Regions from separate parts of the Homo sapiens genome. Here region 2 is linked to region 1. The links are contacts of gene promoters, found by promoter capture Hi-C in human tissues and cell types (Jung and others, 2019). All regions are on one chromosome and are shown on one strand. The core of a region is centred on a gene start or on the middle of the fragment in contact, and the rest is flanking DNA. Distances in the headings are between cores, read along the strand shown. Region 1 holds the start of NOS2 (nitric oxide synthase 2). Region 2 has its middle 23 kb from the start of LINC01992.

Region 1 (7,867 bases), core at 2,687-5,186:
CCTGGGAAGGCAGGGAGGAGGGCATTTCTCCACAGCAGCCTCGGAACCTCTATCGCCACCCTCCGGGGGGCCCACCTGTCCCCCGCCTGCCCTTCAAGGTGCTCTTTGATTTCTCCCCAGCAGAATTCACCTGCTGCATCCATCATCAGAAGAGGCCAGGAATGCGGCCTGCTGGGTGGGCAGGGCCAAGAAGAAGGCAGCCGTGCAGGCCCAGGAAGCCGTAGGAGACTTGCCAACCTCCAGGAGGGGGCCAGCCCTGGACCCTGCAGACAGGCGCTCTGGGGAGGGTACCAGAAGCTCACTGTTTGTCCCGGCTTGAAGGCTGTTTGCTGTGTGACCTTGGTGAGTCTCCTAACCTCTGTGTATCATCACAATCATTATCACTATTTTTACTCTCCTCCTCTTCCTATTTGCCGGTTAAGAGAGGATTGGGATAGTGGTCATGGTTATACAACATTGTGAATATTCTAAAAACCATTGCATTTTACACTTTAAAATAGTTAATTGGTAATTTTATGTTATGTGAAATTTATTCCAATTAAAAATTAAAAATACATACATGAATTTAATGTTACAAAGGGAGAGAGAGGACCGGGAATTTAAAAGCAGGTGTTTGTGGTGGGACGGGGACCTGTCTGAGGAAGGATACTTCAGAAGGCAAGTCCTGGCATCCACTTGCTCTTTGTCAAAAGGGAAATTGTTACTCTCTGACTCCCAGCAAGGATAATAAATTCTTACTTGGCTGACTTTTTGCTCAATGGCTCAAAGCATTTTCTTGTATCTCGTTTATTTACTTTTATTTTTATCACCTTTTGTCACGAGAAAAGTCAGGCCCAGAGAGAAGTGGCTTTTCCAAGATCACATGGTAGGTCAGCAGTGAAGCTGTGCCTCGAACCTGGGACCTTTCAGGCTAAAGGAAACCAGAACATGCCACGCCCAGATATGCCGATATGGCATCCTGATTATCTCCAGCTGAAGGCATTTGAGAAAGAGCAGCTAGAGAGAGGGCTATCTGAACTGCCCTGTCCTGCCTGCAGCAAGCCATAAACATTCCTTGGAGAAAGATGCTTTCCCAGCATCAAGATGAGAAGATAACTTTTATCAGCTCAGAGATGGCACCAGAGCCATCTACAAATACAAACAAACCTTGCTATCCTACTCCTTAGCTCACTTCCACATGTTTACCTTCTCACAGCTTGCCACCCCTGGAAGCCTACAACTGCATTCGTCTTGTCACCTTTCTCTTCTTTCTTTCTTTCTCTCTTTCCTTTCCTTTCTTTTCCTTTCCTTTCCTTTCCTTTCCTTTCCTTTCCTTTCCTTTCCTTTCCTTTCCTTTCCTTTCCTCCTTTCCCTCTTTTTTTTCCTTTTTTTTCTGAGACAGGCTAGGGTGCAGTGGCGCGACCATAGCTCTCTGCAGCCTCTAACTCCCAGACTCAATTGATCCTCCCACCTGATCCTCCTGAGTAGCTAGGACTACAGTAGCTGGGCATGCCACCATACCCAGCTAATTTATTTTCAATTTTTCTGTAGAGATTGGATCTCACTATGTTGCCCAGGCTGGTCTCGAACTCCTGGCCTCAAGCAATCTGCCCACCTCAGCCTCCCAAATTGCTGGGATTCCAGGCATGAACCACCGTGCCCAGCCATCTTGTCACTTTCTAAAATGCATTGCTCTTCATGGCAGATGCTCCATAAGCCAGAGTTCTAAGCCGCAGCATTGAGTTACTTTCACTGAGGCTTCTCCTGCGTGGTGTGCATCACAGACATTAACAAACTTGCTTTTTTTTCTCTATTATTAATCTGTCTTTTGTTACAGTGTCTTTCCCAACAAATAACTTAAGATGATTGAGGAGAAATTATATTTCCTTCCCAGCTGGCTAATTCCAAATGTGTCCTCAAGCCTGGTGCTTGGACTCAAACCCTGCCACAGGTCAAGAATGCCACACCAAGCAGACGCTGTGTTAGAGGGGCACCTGAGGTGACATGTTTGACAGATCACATAACTGAATAACTGCATTTTCTGAAGGAAAATCAACGAAGTGCTTTGAGGCCAAGTAGATGGGATTCTTGAGGATTCCATGAATAGCAAATAGTAGTATCCCCCTCAGAGGCTCTTGGGTGGGGGCATTAAATGTGTTAATACATGTGTTTGCTGCAGGTATAGCCAGAATATGTGAAAGCAGCTACAGGGAATAGAGTGTAGCAAACTCCTAATCATCCCTCAAAACCCTGCCCTGGTGTCCTCTCCCTTGTAAACTTTCCTTGAACAAGGCAGAACCAGCTACATCAGCACCATACCATCCCTCCATCACTACAGATATCACTCTGTACTATAATTATCCATTTATTTTTCTAGGCCTTGCACTCCCTAAGGCCAGGATTCTGACTCTTTCCCTGAGTGCTGTTTACCTGAACTGAACCGGCATGAACCACCACGCCCGGCCATCTTGTCACTTTCTAAAATGCATTGCTCTTCGTGGCAGATGCTCCATAAGCCAGAGCTCTAAGCCGCAGCATTGAGCCGCAGCATTGAGCTGAAGCCTGAAGGGAAGATGGCTTTGATATGTTAAAACTCATTCCAGTTTACTCCTATTTTTCATTCATTCATCCACACATTCACTCAACAAAGATCCTTGAGCTCTGATATCCATGTCTTTTTTGTGGCTCTTAGTTTATCTTTGACAAAGTTAATATATTATGCTGAATTTAACTTGGGAAAGACAAGAAGGAAATGAGTGGACAGTGGTAGCAAAGTGTTGGGACGGTGAGATCAAGGGTGACTTTTTTTCCCTTTGCTTCTCAACTTCTCCCTAATGTAGTTGTTATTTTACTTTTATGATGGAAAAATGCATATGTATGGGAATACTGTATTTCAGGCATTATAAGGAATGAAATTATAGGCCGGGCATGGTGGCTAACCCTTGTAATCCTAGCACTTTGAGAGGCTGAAGTGGGCAGATCACTTGAGCTTCAGAGTTCGAGACCAGCATGGACAACATGGTGAAACCCAGTCTCTACCAAAAACACAAAAATATTAGCTGGGTGTGGTGGTGCATGCCTGTAGTCCCAGCTACTCAGGAGGCTGAGGTGGGAGGATCGCTTGAGCCTGGGAGGCAGAAGTTGCAATGAGCAGAGATCGTGCCACTCCGCTCCAGTCTTGGTGACAGAATGAGACTCCATCTCAAAAATAAATAAATAAATAAAATAAATGAAATGAAATTATAAGAAATTACCACTTTTTCATGTAAGAAGTGATCATTTCCATTATAAGGGAAGGAATTTAATCCTACCTGCCATTCCACCAAAGCTTACCTAGTGCTAAAGGATGAGGTGTTAGTAAGACCAACATCTCAGAGGCCTCTCTGTGCCAATAGCCTTCCTTCCTTTCCCTTCCAAAAACCTCAAGTGACTAGTTCAGAGGCCTGTCTGGAATAATGGCATCATCTAATATCACTGGCCTTCTGGAACCTGGGCATTTTCCAGTGTGTTCCATACTGTCAATATTCCCCCAGCTTCCTGGACTCCTGTCACAAGCTGGAAAAGTGAGAGGATGGACAGGGATTAACCAGAGAGCTCCCTGCTGAGGAAAAAATCTCCCAGATGCTGAAAGTGAGGCCATGTGGCTTGGCCAAATAAAACCTGGCTCCGTGGTGCCTCTATCTTAGCAGCCACCCTGCTGATGAACTGCCACCTTGGACTTGGGACCAGAAAGAGGTGGGTTGGGTGAAGAGGCACCACACAGAGTGATGTAACAGCAAGATCAGGTCACCCACAGGCCCTGGCAGTCACAGTCATAAATTAGCTAACTGTACACAAGCTGGGGACACTCCCTTTGGAAACCAAAAAAAAAAAAAAAAAAAAGAGACCTTTATGCAAAAACAACTCTCTGGATGGCATGGGGTGAGTATAAATACTTCTTGGCTGCCAGTGTGTTCATAACTTTGTAGCGAGTCGAAAACTGAGGCTCCGGCCGCAGAGAACTCAGCCTCATTCCTGCTTTAAAATCTCTCGGCCACCTTTGATGAGGGGACTGGGCAGTTCTAGACAGTCCCGAAGTTCTCAAGGCACAGGTCTCTTCCTGGTTTGACTGTCCTTACCCCGGGGAGGCAGTGCAGCCAGCTGCAAGGTGAGTTGCCTTCATTTCTGGGGAAGCGGCTGTTTTGAGAGGGTTTTGTTTCTTCCTCTTTGAGAAGGCTCAGAAAATTGTGGGAATTTTCTGCCTACAGAGAGAAGGTGTTGGAAAGTCTAGGTAAAAAAATGCCGACATGAGGTTTGGTCATTTGAACATGGCATCTTGGTCAGATTTCTTTTCTGCAAATATTAGCTGTGGTTGTTACATGACAAGGAAAAACTTTCTGAAAAGTTCAAAATGGGAGTTTGTATCTGCTAAGAATTTTTTTTAACAGAGATTATCTTATCAGTCCTTATAACATGTAACCTCCCCACAAATCCTGGTAAGATGGATATATTAAACCCATTTTATGGATGAATAAATGAGTTTCAGTTAAATAACTTGATCCAGGACACATAACTGGTAGAGCTAGGATTCCAGGATTTGAACCCAGGTCTATGGGGCTATAAGTTCTTTTCTTTCTTTCCCTCTTTCCTTCCTTTCCTTCCTGTCCTTTCCTCCCTTCCCCTCCCTTCCCTTCCCTTTCTTTCTTTTTTTTTTTTGGAAACAGCCTTGACTGCCCAGCCTCAAGCAATCCTTCTGCCTCAGCCTCCCGAGTAGCTGGGACTACAGGCACAAGACACCATGCCTGCCTGGCTAATTTTTCAATTTTTTGTAGTCAAGGTCTCCCTATGTTGCCCAGGCTGAACTCGAACTCTTGGACTCAAGCGATCCTCCTGCCTCGGTCTCCCGAAATGCTGGGATTACAGGCGTGAGCCACTGCACTTGGCCTAAAATTCTTACATGGACTATATTCACTACACTGTCTTCTAAAGACAGAGTTTTTGCCTCTTTGATCTTCCTCTTGTCTGTTTCAAAGGAGATGATCTCAGATTTCGAGGGATGAGTGCATTTTTCACAAATATTTCCTCCCCACATAATAAAAGAGGAGCAAGTAATAATGCTGAGTTAGAACAACAACTGCAAAATCTTTAAAAGAAAGGTAGCTACAGCTTGAGTGCTTTCCCCAGTAATAGACCTAAAACTACAGTTGATAATGAGAGCTGCTGGGAAGTGTCTTTCAGGGTCAGGCAAAGGCACCCCTGTTTCAACGACCTCCGGGCTCTTCCTCACCCTGCCTGTGGCCAGTGATGAAGCCTGGCTGGGTCTGGTGGGCCAGCAGGTCCCGCTAAGGAGGCTCATGGTGCATACAGTTTGTCCTTGTTAAGTGGCGATGGGGATGGGGGGGTTCATTGTTTTTCCTTAAGATTATTAGGTGGCTTTACAGAATTGAAGTCTGTGTCCGAAGGCTCCCCATTCCAACCCCGAAATAGAGACAGAGGTTGCAAAGCATTGATGAAGGGGCTCATGCTGGCGTTCATATCGATTCCCCAGTGAGCCAACCCCACTGAGAAGCCCTGTTCTGTAAACTCTTCTTCAACCTTCCCTCACCTCTGCTTCCCTTCTTCAGCCCCACAGTGAAGAACATCTGAGCTCAAATCCAGATAAGTGACATAAGTGACCTGCTTTGTAAAGCCATAGAGATGGCCTGTCCTTGGAAATTTCTGTTCAAGACCAAATTCCACCAGTATGCAATGAATGGGGAAAAAGACATCAACAACAATGTGGAGAAAGCCCCCTGTGCCACCTCCAGGTGAGTTTTCCCTGGGGGAACCTCCTGCTTGTCTCCTTGGGCACCCATGCCCTGTCGGCACCGATGACTCAGAATTCCTCTCTCTGCTCCTCCTCTCTCACCTGAGGTCTGATCTCCTCATTGCTTCTTGAAAGTCCCTGTTGGAATTCAATGCAGCCGCTGATTATTGGGCACCTCGCTGTGCCTGACGGTATGTGAAGAAGGAAGGGACATGGTGCGGGGCTGGCCCTGAAGAAGCTTGGAATCTTTGGGGAAGAATATGGGAAGGAGCTTGGCCTGAGAATGGGAGGCAGTAGAGCCTCGTGGTGGGCACCATGGCGGAGGGGTGGGGGTGGAGGGTCAGCATCCTGGCCTGCGTCCATTCCAATTCACCGCTTGCTAGATGCTTTGAATATCATCCTGGTGAAGGGCATCAGGATGTTAGACAAACTAGTTCCAAGCCCTGTGCTGGCCGCACTAGTTGCCGGGTGCTGCCTCTAGCCAGCTGTGTGACGCAGGGTAAGTTAACCTCTCTGAAACTTAGTGCTCACCTGTGGTATGAGGAACCCAAGGGGGCCCTCACCATAGTGTGCTGAGGATGAAATGAGATCTACAGCACTCAGCACTGTGCCCACACAGAACAGACACTTAGTCCACATCAGGGTTCATCACCATCTACTGAGTACCTGCCCTTGCCAGAGCTACACAGGCCACTTGACAGACTTTGCATCTCAACTGATCTCTGTGGCGGCTCTTTGAAGTTCATATGATTGACTCATTTCACAGATAAGGAAATAGAAGCTCTAATAGGATTATGACTTCCCCCAGCCTGAATGACCGGTAATTACAGAGTTTACAGAGTTGGAACTTGAGCCCAGATTTGGATTCTTCATGTCCCTCCTCCCCGGGCCCATCCTTCCTCCCAGGGCAGAACCAAGAGAATGAGTCAGTTAATGAACAAGTCAAGGGACAGGCTTGAGGCTCGCTCAGGTGGAAAGACAAAGCAATCTGCAATAACGCAATAGTGCAACTGAAACCAAAGCCCCCATCTACACAAGACCACCACATAGCCACACAACCCCACCGCCCCAGAGGAGCCTTTCCCATGGACTACAAAGGGTAGGGCGCCCCCTGGATGTGTACAGCATGACGGCCCTGAGTGTATCTGTCAGAGGCGGCAAAAAATGCCAGTGGCTAAGAGGATGGGCTTGGGGATGAGCAAGTGGCTTTGCCACTCAGTAGCCCTGTAACCTTTGGCAAGTCCCCTAGCCTCTGAGCCTCAATTTCCTCCTCTATAAGAAGAGGGTAACAATGGTGATTTCCTGGAGTTGGAGGAAGGAGTAAATGAGCTTTCCCATGTGAGCAACTTAGCACAGGGCCTGGCCTGGAGTAAGTGCTCAGCAAATGGCACTGTTGGCATTGCTATCATTAGCGGTGGTGTTGGCAGTTAGGAGGTGATGGAGCAAAATTGAACAGAGTTCCCTCTAGGGGCTTCACAGAAGTCAGGTGGACTCTGTGGCCTTTGAAGTATGGGTAGAATGTAGACAGGTGCAGAGGAGTAGCAAGGACATTCAGGAAGAGGGGAGAGGTGAGCAGAGGCTCAGAGGCAGAAATGAGCCTGACTGTGCTTGGCCAGGAGTGGGCTGGGGGCTGGGATAGGCAAAGCCAGGCCAGAGCACAAGGGCTTGAATGCAGGGTAGGAGATTTGGACTCGCTCTCCCTGGCAGTAGGGAGCCATTGTAGGTTCTTGAGCAGGACAGTCTAGCTGTGGTGTGGTAGGTGAATTGGAGGAGAGGACTTTGAAACCAGGCAGTCTGGGCTATGGCAACTGAGGTGGCTAAGAGACCAAGAGGTGAGAACACAGAGTTGATGGCCTCTAGATGTCCAGATTCTAAGGGCTGTAGAGGGGCAGTGGCTTCGCCCCTTCCTTCTCTTCATCTCATCATTGCAGCCGCTGCCAGCTGACCTCCCTGACTCCAGCTCCCCACACTGGCTCTGAGCTCTCTCTTGCCAACTGGACTTCTAGCAAGTCACGCCCCTATTCTAGAGCCTGCAGTGGCTCCCCATTGCCTGTCACCACATTAAAGCTTCCACAGAGTTCTGAGCGAGCACCCTACCCAAAT
Region 2 (7,867 bases), core at 3,282-5,781, 210 kb before region 1:
ACATCTTACATTACTGAGGTACTTTTGTCACAACTAAAGAACCAACATTGGTACATTGTTATATATATATATATATATTTTTTTTCTTTTCTTTTCTTTTTTTTTCAGAAACAGGGTCTTGCTATGTTGCCCAGGATGGCTTCAAACTCCTGGACTCAAGCGATTCTCCTGCCTCAACCTCTCAAGTAGCTGGTACTACAGGCACGAGCCAATGCACCCTGGTATATTAATATTAACTAAACTCCACACTCTATCCAATTTCACTGTTTTTAAAAGTGTCCCTTTTTGGTTCCAGGATCCCAGGCAGGATATCACATTACATTTAGTTGTTATGTCACTTTAGCCTCCTCTGATCTGTGACACTCCCAGACTTTTCCTGTCCTTGATGACCTTAAAGATTTTAAGTGGTACTGGTATGTTGTAGAATGTCTCTCAATTTGGGATTTTTTTTTTTTTTTGAGGCAGGGTTTTACTCTGTTGCCCAGGCTGGAGTGCAGTGGTGCAATCATAGCTCGCTGCAGCCTCCAACTCCTGGGCTCAAGCGATTCTCTCATATCGACTTCCAAAGTGCTGGGATTGTAGGTGTGAGCCACCATGCTTAGATTTTTTTTTTCTTAAGACAGTCTCACTGTGTTGTCCAGGCTGGAGTGCAGTGGCGTGATTAATCAGAGCTCACTGCAGCCTTGGCTTTCTGGGCTCAGCTGATTCTCCCACCTCAGCCTCTCGAATAGCTGGGACCACAGGTGGGCACCACCACACCTGGTTAATTTTTGTATTTTTTGTAGAGGCAGTTTTCGCCATGTTGCCCAGGCTGTGCCTGATGGATTTTTTTTGAAATGAATACCTTAAATTTACTCATTTGCCCAGTTGCAAGATTCTCCAAGGCTTTATTTATGCTGGCGTAGCCAGCATCTTTTTAAAAAATGACATTTATATATACTCACTTAGGTAAATTAATGTACCCATCTCAACTGTTCCCTTTGGCTACACGGACAAACTCATATTCCAAAGAATATGACCCTAAAACTGAAAAGATGCAACAACGCTTCAGGCTTTGTGCTGATACATTTGTTAGAAACATTGGATGAGATGATACAGAGCATTTTACACCGTGCCTGACACATAATTGGCACTCAATACATATTAGCTATTGTTATTGAGAAGTACTAGGTCTTTTCTTCTTACATTTCTTGGCATTTGTTAAGTCATGACATTGTGCCAGAGATTACATGGATGGAAAGGTAAAGTGTAAGGAGTAAGGAGATGGGGTGAGAGGCATTTCATGATTTGTCAAATTTTGAATAAAGGAACCTCACTTCTTACAAAAATAAAAAGTACTGGAAATGCAGTAGTAAGTAAAGAACAAGGATGTACACCTGAAGGTAATATTATAAATCAGGAATATAGGAAAAACCACCTGGACCTGGCCTGGCTTTTTTTTTTTTTTCAGGTTCTCACTCTGTTGCCCAGGCTGGACTGCAGTGGCATAATCTTGGCAGCCTTGACCTCCCAGGCTCAGATGATCCTCCCATCTCAGCCTCCTGAGTAGCTGGGACTACAGACACACCCACTATGTCTGGCTGGCCTTGCATTTTGATTTGTTAAAAAATATTTAGTGATAACTTACTATGTGCCAGGCATTGTGTTAGGCATGAGGATACAACAGTTAATAGACAGATTTGGTTCTTACCCTCATGGAGTTTGCTGTCTACTGAGGGACACAACAGTTAATAAAGTAAACATTTCTAGCCATTGAAACTATAAATAATAACAATAAACAAATAAACAAATGGATATGCAATTATAAATTGTGGTAAACAATAACCATCTCTAACAGACAATTCAAACTCGATTTGTCCAAATTAAGTTCTTTTTTCCCTTGTGCCTTGTCCAGTGTTCTCCATCTCAGTAAATGACACCATCATTCACCAATTACTTAGGTCAAAAACCTTGAAGTGATCCTTGACTCAGAATTTTCCCATATCTCAGTCAATCTTGTCTTTTGGCTGTACCTTCCAAAGTTATCCTGAATTCAACCTCTTCTTGCCATTCCTGAGACTACCCTATTGCCCAAGGCATCATCATCTCTCACCAGGAATATACAATGCATCTTGCTGCTTTTAACCTTTCTCCTGTGAGGACTCTTCTCTGCACACCAGTAAGAATGATCCTTTTTAGCATTCTCCCCAGATATATAATGCCCAGGAATAAGTTTAACCAAGGTGATGAAAGACTTGTACACTGAAAACTATAAAAGCATTGCTGAAAAAATTTAAGGAAGACCTATAGAAACGGAAAGACATTCCTTGTTCATAGGTTGGAGACTTAATATTATTTAGATGGCAGTAAAGCCCGAAGTGATTTACATACTCAATGCAATCCCTATCATAATTTTAAAGACTTTTTTGCAGAAATGGAAAAGCCAATCCTCAGATTAAAATGTAATTGCAAAGGACCTCAAATAGTCAAAATGATATTGAAGGAAAAGAACAATGTTGGAAGAGTTATACTTCCCAATTTCAAAACTTACTACAAAGGTACACTAATTAAAACTGTATGGTACTGGCATAAGGATAGAGATATAGAAGAGAATTGAAAGTCCAGAAATAAACTCACACGTTTATGGTGCTGATTTTTGACAAGGACACCAAGTCCATGCAATATAGAAAGAATAATCTCTTCAACAAATGGTGCTGGGACAATTGGATAACCACATACAAAAAAATTAAGTTGGATACCTACTTCATACCATAAGCAAAAATTACCTTAAAATGCATTAATGACATAAATACAAGAGTTAAAACCACAGAACTCTTAGAAGAAAACAAAGATAAATCTTCATGATCTCGGATTTGGCAATGAATTCTTACATAGAACACCAAAAGTATGAGCAATAAACAAATAAATTTTGTGCCTCAAAGGATAGTTTTAGAAAGTAAAATGACAACTTACAGAATGGTCAAAAATATTTGTAAATTATATATTTGGTAAGGGTCTACTATCTGGACTATAAAGAACTCTTACAACTCAACAATAAAAAGACAAACAACCCAACTTTAAAGTTGGCAAAAAGTGCAGGGCAGGGTCGCATGTGCTTGTAGCCCCAGCTACTCAGGAGAAGAATTGCTTCAGCCTAGGAGTTCAAGTGTAGACCAGGTAATATTGCAAGATCCAGGCTCTAAGAATAAATAATTATTTTTTTTAAATGGGAAAAAACTTGAATAGACATTTCTCCAAAGAGAATGTACAAATGGCCAACAAGCACATAAAAATACTAAGCATCATTAGTTATTAGGGCATGACACCTACTAAGAGGGCTATAATTAAGAAAAGATAGATAATAGTAAGTGTTGATCAGGATGTGAAGTAATTGGAACCCTCTTATATCGCTGGTGGGAATGTAAAATGGTTCAGCCATGGTGGAAAACAGTTTGTTGGTTCCTTAAAATGTTAAATACAGAATTATCATATGACCCAGCAATTCCAAGAAGTGTATAAATGAGGACTGTATTTGTCTGCTACTCAAAGACATGTACATCCATGTTCACAACAACACTATTTACAATGGCTGAAAGGTGGAAACAGCCCAAATATCCATCAATGGATGAATGTATAAACAAATTATGGCATATCCATACAATGGAATGTTATTCAGCCATGAAAAGAAATGAAGTACGGATAAACACTACAATGTGGATGACCCTTGAAAACATTGTGCTAAATGAAAGGAGCCAGACACAAAAGGTCATCTATTGCATGATTCCATTTACATGAAATATTCACAATAGGAAAATCCAAAGAGATAGAATGAAGATTGATGTTTGCTAGAGGCTGGGGGCAGGAGAGAATAGGGAGCAACTGCTTAATGGCTAAGGGATTTCCTTTTGGGGTGATGACAATGTTTTGGAAGATAGAGGTGGTGGTTGCCCCACATTGTGAATGTGATACATGTCACTAAATTGTTCGCTTTAAAATGGTTAATTTTATGTATGAGAATTTCACCTTAAAAAAAAAAAGCCCTTGAAGGTCTGGGGTGGTGGCTCACACCTGTAACCTTTGGAAGGCCAAGGTGGGTGGATTGCTTGAGCTCGGAAGTTTGAGACCAGCCCGGGCAACATGGTGAAACCTTGTCTCTACCAAAAATATAAAAACTTAGCTGGGCATGGTGGCGTGCATCTGTGGTCCCAGCTACTTTGGAGACTGAGGTAGGAGGAACCGTTGAGCTTAGGGGGCAGAGGTTGCAATGAGCCAAGATTACTCCACTGCACTCCAGCCTGGGAGACAGAGTGAGATTCCCTCTCAAAAACAAAAACAAAAACAAATACAAAACAAAACAAAACAAACAAAAAGTCCTTTTAAGAAGATTCTATCATTTCACCATTAGTGGTTTAAGATGAGGTTGAAGAGTAAGCTTAGGCCATATCAAGCAGGGACTTGGAATCAAGCTTTATGGGATGCCAAATCATGATTAATCAAAAGCTATTCACCATGAAAGACTGCTTTCTTGGGGACCAGAAATATAGACGAGTGTTTTCTCTTCCTTTAAGAGAGGGGGCCAGAAGGTTGTTTGAAGAAGCAAGGAATTAGCACCAGGGATATTAGGTTGATTGATGCCTACTGACATCAGCCTCGGGTGGCCTGACTCATCCTTCTTGTGATAGTGATGGTTTTGCCAATGGTTCATGATACTTAAGGTCTAATTGCTGAGGCTCCCTCAGGGATGGGCACTACCAGTCCTTGCTTCAGTGGCTTCCCTTCGTCTATGTTCTCTTGACTGACCAACCTTCTCTTTCCTCTGCACTATCCATCCATTCAATTTGGCACATTCTTTAGGTTTGGTAATATCTTCAGTTATGCCTAGGAGCTGCCCCGTCTCCTTCAGGTGACTAAGCATATGTCTAATCCCATCCACATCTTATTTAAGGCCCATGGGGTGTGTGTGTGTGTGTGTGTTTTTTAATGGGCACCTCATTTATAGACTCCATGTAGCCACAATACTCCCAAAGTAACTCAAATGGCTGGATAATTCTCTGTTCAGTAGCTTTCAATTAGGACTAAATCAAGTGAAGTAAAATCATCTACGGAGATTTTCTGAACTTTATATGATTAAAATCCTACCCCAAGCTAATTCTGACAGACCAGAGGATTGGGGTGGGTGGAGTGGACAAGCATGAATATTTTAGATTATCTCTGCTGTGATTCTGAAAACCTTTCTCCATTTCCATCCTTGTGATAACTATCATATACTTCAAAGGGGCTACTGGCTCTGGGCAGGAATCTGACACACAGAGATGCTTACCAAGGTAACTGTCCCTTTAACATATGAATCCAGAGCCCAGTTGCTTTTGAAGGGACAGGAAGATCCCACAAAACTGCCTTGGATACTTCTCCATCAGCCAAGTCTTTGCCACTATTTTTGTTTCAGAACCACCCACTTAGTTGAGGCTTTCTTTCTCAGGAAAGACATTTACCCACCAGAGTTCTCACCCACCAGAGAGTGGGAAAGAAGAGAACTGGTGGAAGTAGGAGCTGCAAGGCAAAAAGAATATTTGTCACTTGCAGACTGATTCTGCCCCTCTACTACTTCTTTGCAACAGGAAAGATGGACACTACAGGGATTTAGAAGTGAAGAAAAGGGTGAATGATTTCACAATTTACTTTGTGGTGGTAGAGGGTAGAAATGCAGGTCGAATCCCCTTCATAAATGATCAAATCCCTCAACTCCTTGGAATCTGGGTTGATGAGATAAGCAGAGTACAATGCCAGCTTCAGATTACTCCAATTGCAGATGGCGGTGCTTGTCAATGGAGATGATCATTTTTCCATGGGAGATTTGGAAGATAAGAGGAAGAGGAACCAGTATTACTATTAAAATTCTAACAGCATTGAGTTGGCCATTTGATTCTTTGGGTTTGGACAACAGTAAGATATGAGTGGTTTTCAGCAGTGGAAATTTAAATCTGTCAGTGTGTCAGTAAGTTGCTTTAGAGCAATCTACCAGAGCCTGTTGGTGACAGTAAGAAATGGTTCTGTCCCACCTTTCTCCCTCAGTTTCTCTCCCTAAAAGCAAAGACCACACTAAGAGGTTCACCCTGAGAGGTGGCCAAATCAACATAGCATGGTGACTAAGCATGGTGCTTTGGAATTGCAGCTTCCAAAATGGAACTTATTTCTTTGGCAGACATAGCCAGATGTGGCCTACAGAAATATTTTGTGTGGCCCACATATTTTTTTAACTTTCATCTGAGCCAATATTTAGAAATCCCAGTATCTGCTCTCTCTTCTCTGTCTATGCCTCTCTCTCTCTCTCCACCTCCCTCTCCTTGTCTCCTTCTCTATCTCTCATATCGGAAGCTCTGGTAATACTGATCCTGCATTTCTGCATGGCAGGGATAGACTGAAACTGAGAAGTAGCATCTCTCTTGGGCAGTTCACCATAGTTCCCACCACCCACACAGCACATGGATGTACTTTTATACCCAAGGCCATTTGATCTCGGACCTCCTTTGGTGTGCAGGAAGCTATTGACATGTCCCAGACCACTCAAAACCCAAAGAAGGAAGCATCAGATGTCTAACCAGAAAAGTCTAACGAGAACCCCCAAGTGCAAACTCCCTTTAGTTGTAATGGGCAAAACACATGAGACATTCCTGTAGATAGTCCTCCTGGAAGATGTGCCATATGATGAAGAAAGCAGTGGCTTCTCTGTAATAATGCAGAAGTGATTAACATTGATCCCTGAGCAAACAGTTATCTCTTATGCCCCAATAAGCTCATTTCTAGGATAACCAAACACTCCTAATGCAGTTGTTCTCCACTGAGGTGAGTGCACTGAGGTTGAGAAAGTGTCCTTGGTACTGACACATGCCACCACTGCTTCTGATTGACAATCACTCTGTTCTAACCAGTCTGAGTCTGTGTGATCACTTTTTTTTTTTGCTTTGAGACAGAGTTTCACTCTTGTTGCCCAGGCTGGAGTGCAATGGCGCATGTGTGATCACTTCTATGGTAACTATAGCTCCTCCTTCAGAACTATGTCTTGGCTCTGAATCCCTGGGGATTATGTTACAACTAAAGGGAGAAGGAGGAACCCTGAGGATTATAAATGTTGCCAAGGGCAGTGGTGGTTCCTAAATCTATCTATGCATCAGAATCACTTAGACATTTTTTAATGTTCATGTTCCTGGGCTTGATTACACTCCTGCTGTGTTAGTCCATTTGTATAGCTATAAAGGAGTATCTGAGGCTGGATAATTTATAAAGAAAAGAGGTTTCATTGATTCATGGTTCTGCAGGCTTTACAGGAAGCACACTGCCAGAATCTGCTTCTGGTGAGGGCCTCAGGAAACTTCCAATTATGATGGAAGAAAAAGGGGAAGCAGGTGCATCGCATGGCGAAAGCAGGAGCAAGAAAGAGAGAGGGAAGAGGTGTCACACTCTTTTAAACAACCAGCTCTCACATGAACTCAGCGAGAACTCACTTATCACCAAGGGGATGATACTTCATTTATGAGGGATCTGCCTCCATGATCCAATCACCTCCCACTAGGCCCTGTGAACATTGGGAATCACGTTTCAACATGAGACTAGGAGGGGACAAACATCCAAAACATATCAGCTACTGGATTATACTCTTTGGGAATGGAATCCAGCTCTTTGCGTTCTTCACATGCCCACCAGATGATTCTAATGCAGCTGTCCTAGCACCAGCCTGTGCCTCTAAGACAACTTTAGAGAGGCATTGGTTCACAGATGTGGAGGATTCTCTGGAACCTCCCACATTCATTCTGGAATCAGCAACTTCATGCCCCACACTCAATCCCTATCATGCCATCAGAGCCTTTTGTCCTACTGGAGTTTCTGATGT

Evidence for each region. Contacts are between HindIII fragments. The study calls those that stand out against the background at their distance.
Region 2: a contact is called between a fragment that was not itself captured here and the fragment with the promoter of NOS2 in region 1, in 1 of the 25 tissues and cell types used here (H1 embryonic stem cells).

Annotation. Positions count from the first base shown.
Region 1 is chr17:27,796,598-27,804,464 of GRCh38, reverse strand. NOS2 (nitric oxide synthase 2) reads left to right here and starts at 3,936. Exons shown (of 27, transcript NM_000625.4): 1 at 3,936-4,126; 2 at 5,583-5,765. The coding sequence starts at 5,656. RefSeq lists cis regulatory regions at 439-578, 1,237-1,372, 3,399-3,421, an enhancer at 3,734-3,762 and promoters at 1-3,972, 3,731-4,023, 2,906-4,023, 1-4,103. The HindIII fragment of the contact is 5,928 bases long and covers 990-6,917 here.
Region 2 is chr17:28,010,470-28,018,336 of GRCh38, reverse strand. No RefSeq gene overlaps it. Among named protein-coding and RNA genes, the nearest start is that of LINC01992, 23 kb to the right of the region's middle. The HindIII fragment of the contact is 4,743 bases long and covers 2,160-6,902 here.